Linked DNA regions of Homo sapiens: all the other regions are linked to region 1. Evidence: promoter capture Hi-C in 16 types of primary human blood cells and fetal thymus (Javierre and others, 2016). All regions are on one chromosome and are shown on one strand. Each heading gives the region's core, a stretch centred on a gene start or on the middle of the fragment in contact. The rest is flanking DNA. Distances are from core to core; before and after follow the strand shown. Region 1 holds the start of GCC2 (GRIP and coiled-coil domain containing 2). Region 2 holds the start of MTLN (mitoregulin). Region 3 holds the start of SOWAHC (sosondowah ankyrin repeat domain family member C).

Region 1 (3,952 bases), core at 932-3,431:
CATGAAGGAAAAACACACTTAACTTACACAAACTTTAAAAATCCTCCTCCCTGACTTTAACAACTCAAAAGTCACTGTGGTTTAGAGATGTGGGAATAATTTAGAAATCAGAGGTAAATTTTTAGAATGTTAAATAACAGATTCTACTACACTAAGGTGTACTTGGAATCACTGGAAAACAAACAAAAACAAGCCAATGCATTATTTTAAAAACTACCATTTTAAACCACGATTAAAGAGACTGTGATCAAGATGAGTATTTTCAACCCAATACCTGTACACCTTGATTTAGCTTTCTGTATTAGCATCATCTGTTTCTTGGCAAACTTGATGAGGTCTTCTTTGGGCAATGTTTCCAGCTGAAAGATGTGGTCATGTTACCAACTTGTTATAACTCATGTTTCTAGTATACCACAAAAAAGAAACAATGTCTGCTAGAAAACAAAAACATTCTACAGAATAAATCTTTATGCCAACCGCATACTTTGTTCCACATTTTTTTTTTGAGACAGAGTCTCGCTCTATTGCCCAGGCCGGAGTGCATGACACGATCTTGGCTCACTTGTAACCTCTGCCTCCCAAGTTCAAGCAATTCTCCTGTCTCAGCCTCCCAAATAGCTGGGATCATAGGCGCCCGCTACCACGTCCGGCTAATTTTTGTATTTTTAGTAGAGACGGGGTTTCACCATGTTGGCCAGGCTGGTCTCAAACTCCTGACCGCAGGTGATCTGCCCGCCTCGGCCTCCCAAAGTGTTGGGATTACAGGCGTGACCCACCGCGCCCGGCCACATTTTTTAAAATCAGCAAATGCAACGTCAATTCTGTAATTGCTATGCAACTACTAAAAATTAGTTATGCAACTACTATGAAACGTAAAAACCAGGCCATATCCTCTTATAGCTAATGTTACAGGTTGACATTGCTAGCTTTTGATTTAATTGTAAAATCAGTAGGTTGGAGCTAATGCTACTTAAAATTCCTTGGAGCTGTAAAATTATTTCATTCTATTCAAGGCTGCAAGTCTTTGGTCACAAGAAAATTTACGCATAATTACAGCAGCAAGATGAACCGGGTAACATTCAGGCTTTAATTAAAAAATTGAGCTTTACCACTTGAGAAAATTGCTTAAGCCTGTGGTCTCAGGTTTCTCATCTGTAAAAGGAGGGTAACAACAGTACCTATCTCATGGTTATCATGAAGCTTAAACGAAGGAACTGAGTGGTTAGGCAAGCGCCAGAAATTTAGCATGCACACAATAAACCTTAGCAATAAACCACTATCATTTAGAATGATTGAATGTTAAACATTGTACAGGGCCATAAAACTGGACTAATTAAACTCTTTGGCAATGTAGAAACTGGAGCCCACAGATCAGAATCCCTTGATTCCTACCCTATGTCACTGCTCCTTCCACTACACCACTATATAAACCTTCTTAGACTGCTTTATGTTCGAAAAATAGCAGGATCTCCCAGCAGTGCTAACCAGGAGCAGGAAGCAAACAAAAAGTCTTTCTATATCGGGGTGGGCGGGGGAGAAACAGGAAATGGGCGATTGCGCACACTAAAATTGAGATCCCTTGGAGCAAGGCTATTAAAAAAAAAAAAATCAGCGCCCCCCCCTTCCCCATGCCAAAGTTTTCCAATTCATCACCCTTCCACTCTTCAGGAAGCCCGCTATTCAAGTATTCTCTTCACCTTAGATTTCCCGGTCCCAGGGGTAGCTGGTGAAGCCACCCCATCTTGAACAAGATCCTGCAAAACAAAATCAAACCCAGGTGTCAGAAGAACTCTTTTCCTAATTCCACACGGAACGCGTAGAACCCTTACAGGGAAAAACCTTCTATGGAATCAAGTGGTGGAAAGCCTCGTGAGACAGAGAATGAGGGCGGACGGAGGCGGTCGCTGTGGCAATTCGTACACAAACGGGCTCTACGGGGCAGGTAACCCCCAGGGATAGAGTTTACGAAAGATGGGGAGGCGACAGCAGCGCGGGCTTCGGGACACCAAGAGGGAGACTACCGCGCCCTCCCATCGGGCCCACTCCCACATCCCAAATCGCGGCGCGGAAGGCTTGATGGGAGGCAGTGGGCCCGACCTGAGTTACCTCCATCTCCGCCAGCCCGCCGCCGGCCCGCAACCAGCCGCCGCCACCGCTGCACTTCTGTTTGCGCCAGCCTCTGACGTAGGCTCTACTGCAGGTCAAAGGTCGCGCTCTCCGGGCGGCCCGCCCCCCACGTCTCCATAGCTACAGCTCGGCAGCACTTCCGCTTCCGTGTCTGCGTCCGGGAGAAGGTTCCCCGTACGGCGCTAAGGGCGGAGTCCGTCTAGACGTTCTACCTGGGGCTCGACCCCTGGGCCTGCAGGTCACGGAGTAGGTGTGGGTCCCGCCACTGCCGGTTATTGGCATGGGAAGGCGGGCCGATTACCCCTTGGGGCCTCGGGCCTCGGTTTCCACGTCTGTAAAATCTTGTGAGAGTGAGGAACATTGGATTGCAGGACAGGTCTCTCAGTCCTCCAAAGGTGTCCGCTAGCCTGCGAGTGCCTGCGGGACCCACAGCTGGTTCCGGGGGGCTCCTTAGGCATTTGTGGCCAGCATGGTGCCCGGGAGCTCCGTGACTCACAGGTCAGGGATGCGGTAGAGGGCTTCCCTGAGGAGGCATTTCTTGACTCTGGAGGCTGTGAGGAGGTCCCTGGACAGCTCTGCCCTGCAGCCGCCCGGTACTGATGGTGATGTGGTGGAGGCAAGATAGTCGGCCAGGGAACTGGGCAGCCGTGGGAGGAGACTCTGTAGAGTAGGGGGCCCGAGGCCACCCTTTCCCGAAGGGCACGCCAGAGAATCTGTGGTCGAATCCCAGAGCTGCTGCTGTGTCCTGATTGGCGGTCCAGTGCTCTGAGAGCCTTTCTGTTAACTGCTGAAGTGGTTTGCTGCGCTTTCACCTTCCCATTAATGTTTTCCATACACTCCCATAACTAAGGTAACCTGAAGATAACCTAGTTTCCTGTAGTTTAAATGGTCAAAAGGTTGAAGAGGCAGCACACAGTATGTATCGAGTAAATGGTAGCTGATTATTACTAGGTAAAAGAAGTGTTATAAACGAGAAAGAACAGCTATTGTGGACATCTACTCTTTGTCTTTGACAGTGTGTATCACCTATGGTGTTTGTAGGATTGGTTCAGGGGTGGTGTGTGACCTAAGATGTACAGTCTCCACGTACAGTAACACACGTGTGTGTGTACACGTGTGTGTGTACACGTGTGTGTGTGCACGTGTGTGTGTGCACGTGTGCGCGCACGTGTGTGTGCACGTGTGTGTACACACATATATGCACACACATGTATACACACACACACACACAATCCCCAAGTATACATTGTTATTAATGGTCCAGATTAATGCCATTCAAAGTAGTTCCCCAAGTTAAGAGCAACTTACGGTAGACTCCTATTTCAATTAATAACTTGAAAAAATCACTTGCAATAAAATAGCAGGTTAACTAGATACTACACACATTCCAATCCTGTAAAAGTTTCTCAGAGAAACACTGTTAGATATAGTTACATTCCAGGAGTTTGGCTACATCAATAGCTACAGAAGAGTTGATGTTCTCACAGTAGAACTCTCTTTTTCTCATACTTGAAATAAAAAAGAACCTTTCTTTTCTTCCTTTGATCTTTCTTCCCTCGCCAGCCCTCCATTGCACTTGGCTGGGTAACAGGGTCCATGAGTTGCAGCTACAGGTAGGGCAGCGTCTCCTGGGAATCCCCAGGGAGATGAGGGTCAGCACACCCCTAAGCTCCAGGTCATCAGCGGCCTCCTCACACAGCTCGAGCTCACCCCCATCTGCCTTCCTGGTTGTCATTGGACAGGAATTTTATTTTCTGAGATGATGGAGGCAGGTATAATGTTCTTGACCATCGGATACCTTCTGTTGTTGTTCCTCTTAAGGAAG
Region 2 (3,952 bases), core at 762-3,261, 1.8 Mb before region 1:
CCTGCTATTTGTGACTGGCATTGGAAGTAGGAAGAAGTCTTATGGGACTGAGCCCTCAACCTATGGAGGCTGATGCTACATCCAGGTAGGTAAGTGTCAAAATTAAATTGAATTAGAGGACACCCAGTTGTTGTCTGCTGCAGAATTCATTGGTGTATAGGAAAAAGGTCTCCCTCACCCCAACTCTGGTGTCAGAGTATTGAATGTATTGTTTAGTGAACAGAGGTGGTCTGTATTGAGAGTTAAGGTGGGAAAAACACTCTGTTTTGTCCCATATCTTACACCATGTAACAGATTACCACAAATGTAGTCACTTAAAACAATACACATTTATTATCTCACATTTTCCATGGATCGGGAATCCAAGCACAATTAAGCTGGGTCCTCTGTTATAATCTCACAAGACTGCAATCAATGTGTAAGGCTGTGTTTTCATCTGGAGGCTCAAATGGGGAAGAATCTGCTTCCAAGCTCATTCAGGTTGTGGGCAGAGTTCATTTCCTTGTGGTTTTGGGACTGAGGGTTCCAGATTTTTGCTGGCTGTTGGCTGGAGGCTTTTCCTAGAGGCCACTGCAGTTCTTTGTTCTGTGAGCTTCTCCAGCACGTCCACTTCATCAAGCCACAGGAGAGTCTTTAACTTGCTAAAAAATGTTATATACACAGTGACATGTTTTGGCTGTGTGCCCACCCAAATCTTGAATTGTAGCTCCCATAATTCCCACATGTCATGGGAGGGACCCAGTGGGAGGTAATTGAATCATGAGGGTGGGTCTTTCCCGTGCTGTTCTCGTGGTAGTGAATATGACCCATGAGATCTGATGGTTTTATAAAGGGAAGTTCCCCTGCACAGGCTCTCTTGCCTGCTGCCATGTAAGATGTGCCTTTGCTCCTCCTTTGTCTTCTGCCATGATTGTGAGGCCTCCCCAGCCATGTGGAACTGTGAGTCAATTAAACTTCTTTCCTTTATAAATTACTCAGTCTCATGTATGTCTTTATGAGCAGTGTGAGAACAGATTAATATACGTAGTAATCACAGGAGTGACATCCTCATCCCCTTTGCTTTATTATATTAGTTAGAAGCAAGTCACAGGTCACACCCACACTCAAGGGGAGTGGATTACACAAAGGCCTGAACACTAGGAGGTGGAAGTCATGGTGGGGGGGTGTCAAAATGACTTTCATCATTAGAAATGTGTTTGTTTGTTTCCTATCCCAACAATTTTGACCCCACGTTAGTTCTGGTACAGCATGACCCCCAGACCTGGGTTGTCCAATATGGTAGCCACTGGTCCCATATATGGCTAGTGTGACTGAAGAACTGAGTTTATAATTTTTAAAAAATTTTAATGAATTTAAATTTAAATTGGTACTCCATTCGGTTATTGGAAAAATGTTTGTGTTTTTAGAACAGCTTGGGTATATAAATCTACTTTTTCAACTGTACATTTTATGAAATCTAGACACTGATAGGTATCTCCATTGAAAATTCAGTGTTCAAATTGAGATGTGCCTTTCGCTGTAAAATACAGACCAGTTTTCAAAGACTTGGTATGAAAAAAATAAAGCATCTCCTTAATAATTTAAAAACGAGTTACATGTTGAAATGATAACATCCCCTATATGTTGGGATAAGTAAATATATTATTAAAAACAATTCCATGTTTTTGTTTTTATTTTTTAAAAAACAGGTTACCAGAAAATTTAAAGTTACGCCAGTCACTCCCATTCTATTGCTGAGAGAAAATACAGAGCGGTGAAGAGCTTACAGTCGGGTGAGCAAGATACGCCCCCAATGTTAGCTAATGATGTAAGGCATCAACAAGAAATGTGGGGGTTCAGGAAAGTGGAAGGTGGGGTCGTCCAAAGCCTGGGAAAGTCTTCAGTTGAAGGCGAGACAGATGGGACTATTAGTGAGTTTCGAGAGATCCAACGCCTCGCCGCCTTCGCTTCATTTTTGTCTCACGCCCCACCCTTGAACGCGCGGCGCCTTTTGACCCCGCCGCCGCGCCGTAGACCGCGCTGCACGCCGGCGGCAGCCATGGCGGATGTGTCAGAGAGGACACTGCAGTTGTCCGTGCTAGTAGCCTTCGCTTCTGGAGTACTCCTGGGCTGGCAGGCGAACCGACTGCGGAGGCGCTACTTGGACTGGAGGAAAAGGAGGCTGCAGGACAAGCTGGCGGCGACGCAGAAGAAGCTGGACCTGGCCTGAGACTCTGCGCCTTCCGCCCCATTCTGTCCCCCTCATGGCCACCTTGCCATGTCCGCGCCGGAGCCCCGGTCCGCCGGCGCCCAGAACCAGGCTTGCCACACAGTCCCCGCCTGCCATGGCCGGCTCTTCCTGGAGTGTTGGTGAGCAGTACACATAGTGACATTGCAAAGGGAGACTTTGGGGTCGGGCGGATATCTTAGGATCAACTCTGGCTAGGTCGCAGAAGACAGGACTTGTTCCCACAGACACCAGAAGGTGGAAGTTTTGTCTTCCCTGATAACTTGCTCTTCGGTATCTTGGTTTGGTTCACTGGGTGTTTAATGAGAATGTCTTACCAACGTGCTATGTCGTCGTTCATCCTGACAACATTAAACATCAGTATAGAAAATACTGGAAAGAACAAAAGAAAAAAAGAACCAGGGAGGTGATCTTGCCACCCCCAATTCTTTTCAGTAACATCCTTGTTAGCACATCTTCGCCTTGGCGATTGTAAACTCCAAACTGAATTCTTAGGTTGTTGGCAGCCTGGTAAAGTGGAAAGAGCAGTGGCCTGGAAGTCAGGAACCTTGCATCCAGTCTTAGCTCTTCAGAAGAGCTGTGCATGATCAATTTTCAGGACCTCAGTTTTCTTGTCGTAAACCAGATCTTATGGTTCATGGTTTAATACCACAGTACGGCTTGAAGTTTCAGATTGTGTATTTCTAATTTTTTTCTCTTTTCTGTTTCTAACAGCTTGTTGAAGATGCATATAGACTACCGGAAAGAAATGACTTCTTCTTGCACTTTATGAATCAATTTTATTTTTAAAATAAAAAAATTAAACATCTTTGACCCTTTTATTTTTTCATAAGGGGAAGTATCATGTTTTTCTTGCACCTTACTGCATCAAGAGATCTGCATTTTCAAAACTGACTTACTAGTGTTTTTGAGCAGATGTGTTATGTAACTCGTGCCCCTTCTTTGGTACAGGCACAAAGCAGACTTGGCCGTGGGACCATTATGGGTTCTTTTACCGAACTTTTTGGAAAGCAGGGGGCTGTGTAAACATAACTGAGGTAAGGGTGCTATATGTAAGACCTTTGAACTTCCAAGAGTAACAGTGTATTCCTTGGCCCTGCTCAGGCCTATAATCCCAGCACTTTAGGAGGTTGAGGTGGGAGGACCACTTGAGCCCAGGAGTTGGAGACCAGCCAGGGCAACATGGGGAGACCCAGTCTCTACAAATAACTTACAAATTAGCTGGCCGTGGTGGCACACACCTGTGAGTCCAGCTAATTTGTAAACCAGAGGCTGAGGCAGGAGGATCACCTGAGCCTAGGAGGTTAAGGTTGCAGTGAGCTGTGATCTCACCACTGCACTCCAGCCTGGATGACAGAGCGAGACCCTGTCTCAACCCAAAACGAAACAGTGTGTTCCAAGTACAGAGTATAAGTTTTTTCTTTTTTCTTTTTTATTTGAGACAGAATTTCACTCTTGTTGTCCAGGCTGGAGTGCAATGGCACAATCTCGGCTCACTGCAACCTCTGCCTCCTCGGTTCAGGCAATTCTACTGTCTCAGCCTCCCAAGTAGCTGGGACTACAGGCATGTGCCACTATGCCTGGCTAATTTTTGTATTTTTAGTAGAGATGGGGTTTCATCATGCTGGTCAGGCTGGTCTCGAACTCCTGACCTCAGGTGATCCACCGGCCTTGGCCTCTGAAAGTGCTGGGATTACAGGCATGAGCCACTGTGCATGGCCAGTG
Region 3 (3,952 bases), core at 973-3,472, 1.2 Mb before region 1:
TTGATCTGACCTTCAGTAGTACCTTAAAATGCAAATGCAATTAGTAAAAACGGGGCAGCCTGTCGTTTTCACACTTAGAAATACAATGTAGTTTCATTACAGTTTGCATTTTTTTGTTACTCTTGAAAGAGTAACCCCTTATAAAATCAGATACATAAAAACTGCATTATTCCTTACTTTGCAGGCATCCAGGAATGGTTAAAGCAAAGGAACTCTCATTCATTAATTCATTCATTCTGTTCCCCCAATTTAGATACATTTCTAGTCTCCAGAAACGGACTCCAGGGCAGGGAAGTGGAGGGCAGAGAAGAGGTACAGGTCAAGGTATGATGAATCTCTGAAAAAGACATCCACTTTTCCCAGAAGGCTAGCCTGAAGAGAACTCCGCCCCATCCATTCCGATCCCTCAAGTAAGAATGCATAATTTAGCTTGTCCTTCTGGTCTCACTTCCTTACAACACCTAGTATTCAATTTATTAAGACAAATAAACCTTTGCATTTTCTAAAAGAAGCAATTTTTACCCAAATACATTGGACTTTGGTCTCAATGTGAAGGGCGAGTGGCCTTTAACAGGTCGTTCCTCCCCCACTCCCTCCTCCCCCCTGCCCTCCAGCGGCTGCTCTGGGTCCCTGAAAGAGGGTGTGGTGTGGACGATCTGGGTTCTGAATCGGATTTTGTTGAGTCTGGGTTTTATACGTCCACTAGAGCTGCCCGAGGCTTTGCGCCCTGGATCCTTGGCTTTGCCTCCGACCCACCCCTCAGCCGAGTGGTGATGGTGGTGATGGTCCCCTCCATCTTCTAGGGCGTGTGAGAGTTTGTAGGTGATGAGATGCGAGGGAAGCACCTTTGAAAGCCTCCAGCGCCCGCCGCCGCTACCCGCGGCGCTTTCCCCGTCACCCTCGTCCAGGGCTCCCACCAGGTTCTTGATCTCCTCGGCGATGCTCCGACTCAGGTACTGGGAGGCCTTTTTCCCACTGTAGTCCCTGATGTCCACATCGGCGTCGTAGGCCCCCACCAGCAGCTTCACCACCTCCACGTGGCCGTGCATGGCTGCCAAGTGCAGGGCGGTGTAACCCCCGCTCGTCCTGGCGTCGATGTTCACCGGCAGCTGGTGTTTGTTGGCGAAGTTGACTAGCATGGCCAGAAGCTCCTGCCTGCCGTGCTTGGCGGCCCAGTGCAGGCAAGTGAAGCCGGTAATGAAGTCCCGCTTGACCAGCAGGCCGGGCTCGCAGGTGAGCAAGCCCTCCAGGCTGTCCCACTTGCCATCGGAGGCAGAGAGCATCCACGCGTGCTCCAGGGGGTCCAGCGTCACGGAGCCTCCGCCGCTGCTCTCCTCCTCCGCGGACGACGAGGCCACCGATGCGCTGTCTGAGTCGCCCCCGCCTCTGCCGCGTCCTCCCCCGGAGGAGCTGCCCGGGCTGCTGCCCCCGGGACACACGCTCCTCTTCAGCTGCGGGGAGCTGCCCATCACCAGGTCACGGAGGTTCTGGCGGGCCGGCCTCTGTGCGGTAGCCCCCACAAGGGAGCTGCCCCTGTCCGCCTCCTCGCAGCCATGTGGCGGGAGCTCCAGGTCCTCGCTGGGCCCCGGGGCTGGAGTCCGCGGTAGGGGCTGCACGTCGCGCCGCGAGTTCTTCCTGCGAGCCCCGGCGCTCAGGGGCGGCCAGTGCGCGGGGGCGGGGGGCTCTCCCTCGCCCAGCTCGCGGCCCTGTCCAGGGAGCGACTCCGGGGCCGCCGCGTCGGGGAGCCGATCGCGCGCCTCGGGCCCGGCAGGGCCGTCGGGGGCCTCGGGCTCGGCGGTCACCTGGATTCGCGGCGGGTCCCCGGAGGGCTCGGACGGCCCTTCACAGAACCTCTTCTTGAGGTGCACGTACTTGGCGCCGTCGGCGGGATCGACGCGCACAGTGGCCACGGCGTTCACCAGCTCCTTGAAGTGCGCGCGGGCGCGGGCGCGCTGCTCCGGTTCGCCGCCTAGGGCGCCCCTGAAGTGCTGCACCAGCTCGGCGTGCAGGGCCCGGCCCCCGCGCTCCGCCAGGAAGCGCAGCACCGCCTCGGGGCCCAGCGCCGCCTCGGGGCCCCACTCTGCCGGCCCCTCCATCCTCGACCGCGCTGCTCCCCCGCCAGCGGGCGGCTCAGCGCGGTCCCATAGCGACGGGCTCCCAGCGGCCGGCTCCCGACGGCGGCGGAGTCTGGCGGGCTCAGCGGGCTGCCAGCCTACGCGTCTGAGGCCAGAGGACTCGGCCACCGCCTCACTGGGCCGCGCCCGGGCGGACACGCCCCCCGCACCCCCGCCCCGCGCCCACGCCACCAGGCCACGCCCACTTCCGCTCCCCGCTGTCTCGGCCACACCTACCTAGGGCGGCCTCGCCTCAAGGCCCGCCCACTTCCGGCCTCGCGAGGGCCGCAATCACTGCTCCGCAGTTCCCGCCTGCATTCCTCGCGCCGTCTTCCTGGAGTCCCAGCTCTCCTTCAGCCCGCCCCAACGCTGACGCTCAGTCCTCAGGCGTCGAGGGTAGCTCCTGTGAGGGGCTCGCTTGGCGCAGGCAAAACGCTCAGCGCGCACCACAGGGCGTCCGCCCCAACCCCGCCCCCGGAGGCCTCCAGCTCGGCCCCGCCCCTGTCCCTTCCCCGTCGCGGAGGCAGCCTAGCCTCGCGCCCCGCCCGTTGCTTCTGCCCTCCGGCCTTCCCGCCGCCGTCGCCGGGACCAGCCGCTCGGGGCCGGGCTGATACAGCCGCTTCACCGTGCCCCTGCCCGCGACCATGGCCTCCTCCGAGGTGGCGCGGCACCTGGTGAGTCCCGCCGACGCCGGGGCCCCAGCCCCGCGCTCCCCGGCCCCCGCGGGACTTCCCGCCCTCGACCCACCGGCCCCCTGGTCCGGCCCGGGATTGTGACCCGCGCCCCCTCCGGCCCCGCCCGCCCAGTGCTCCCCGGCTTCCGCGGCGGCCGGGCGCCTGGGGCGGGAGAGGAGCCTCTGCGGAGCCTGGGCGCGGCCGGACCCCGGTTCGCGGGGCGCGGCGCCAGCGTCGGGACGGTGGGAGAGTTCTTGAACGACTTCCCGGTCTTTGCCAAAAGTTACATCCACAGCGGTGTTTGTGGGTCTCTTACGGCTATAACGGAGTTGAAGGCGCAGTGCGGACTGATTGAATAGCGGTCATCTTTTGCAGCCGTGAGCACTTCCGAGCCTCCCTGCCGCCGGGAGAAAGCCCGGCTCCCCTGGCTTTTCAAAAGCTCTCCCGTTTTATCCGATGGTGTGGTCGTCCAAGTTTTCCTCCATTGGGATTTTAAACCGTTTTTTTCCCGCCTTGACTCTTTTGTACTCTAAAAGAACGCGTTTGTTCACTGTTTTGAACCTTTCCAGTTACTTTTGTAGATTTATCTCGCTTGTTAGTAAGCCAGCGGTTTTCCAAGTGTGGTTACAACTATTTTCGTTAATAGTACCAAGGTCGTGTACATCGAGTTTTCCAAAGGCTACATGGTATGGAGTGATCTCACCGCCGTTTGGAGGCCCGATGCCTGTGTATTCTTAAAAACAAATTCTCCCTTTTAATTTTTGATAGTAAACATTGGTGGTTTTCATCTGTGTAAACAAAAGCTCTTTGGAGGCTGGAGACCAAAAAGTTTGAGAACCACTCTACTAAGCAACCTCCTACATGAGAAGTTTAAATTGTAGAAACAGTTCAGATTGCAGGCTGAGAGATTAGAGGATCCGTCCAAAGTGACACCGTTGGTTTGTTTTATAGAACCTGGACAAAGATTTTTCTCCCTGATTCAGCCCAGGTCTCTTTTCATTCTATCGCGTATTTTTTAAAAATCTCAAATTTTCTGTCTGGACCCCCTTGTCTCAGTTGCTGTGTTTGTGTGCATGTGTGAGTGAGGGAAAATTGAGGGGTCCTGGTGAGGAAAATGTGTTTTATAAATTCTTTGATTCATAGATTACGTATCCAAACAAGCTT

The links. The method cuts DNA at HindIII sites, captures the fragments that hold promoters and counts their contacts. A CHiCAGO score of 5 or more calls a contact.
Region 2: a fragment that was not itself captured here is called in contact with the fragment with the promoter of GCC2 in region 1 in 1 of 17 cell types (fetal thymus); the score reaches 6.2 in fetal thymus.
Region 3: the fragment with the promoter of SOWAHC here is called in contact with the fragment with the promoter of GCC2 in region 1 in 5 of 17 cell types (monocytes, non-activated CD4 T cells, fetal thymus and 2 more); the score reaches 7.2 in monocytes.

Annotation. Positions count from the first base shown.
Region 1 is chr2:108,447,435-108,451,386 of GRCh38, reverse strand. It overlaps GCC2 (GRIP and coiled-coil domain containing 2), which reads right to left and starts at 2,181. Exons shown (of 23, transcript NM_181453.4): 1 at 2,107-2,181; 2 at 1,698-1,754; 3 at 275-359. The coding sequence starts at 2,112. RefSeq lists enhancers at 190-690, 691-1,191, 1,277-2,258, 2,095-2,354, 2,259-3,241. The HindIII fragment of the contact is 5,578 bases long and covers 1,203-3,952 here.
Region 2 is chr2:110,210,612-110,214,563 of GRCh38, reverse strand. MTLN (mitoregulin) reads left to right here and starts at 2,017. Exons shown (of 2, transcript NM_001384134.1): 1 at 2,017-2,349; 2 at 2,942-3,035. The coding sequence starts at 2,039. The coding sequence ends at 2,209. RefSeq lists enhancers at 1,715-1,764, 1,865-2,114. The HindIII fragment of the contact is 4,642 bases long and covers 1-3,952 here.
Region 3 is chr2:109,612,634-109,616,585 of GRCh38, reverse strand. SOWAHC (sosondowah ankyrin repeat domain family member C) reads right to left here and starts at 2,222. Exons shown (of 1, transcript NM_023016.4): 1 at 1-2,222. The coding sequence starts at 2,096. The coding sequence ends at 519. It overlaps SEPTIN10 (septin 10), which reads left to right and starts at 2,620. Exons shown (of 11, transcript NM_144710.5): 1 at 2,620-2,788. The coding sequence starts at 2,759. It also overlaps a transcript of RANBP2 not described here. RefSeq lists silencers at 2,169-2,338, 2,599-2,848, 2,879-2,968 and an enhancer at 2,821-3,730. The HindIII fragment of the contact is 4,568 bases long and covers 1-3,951 here.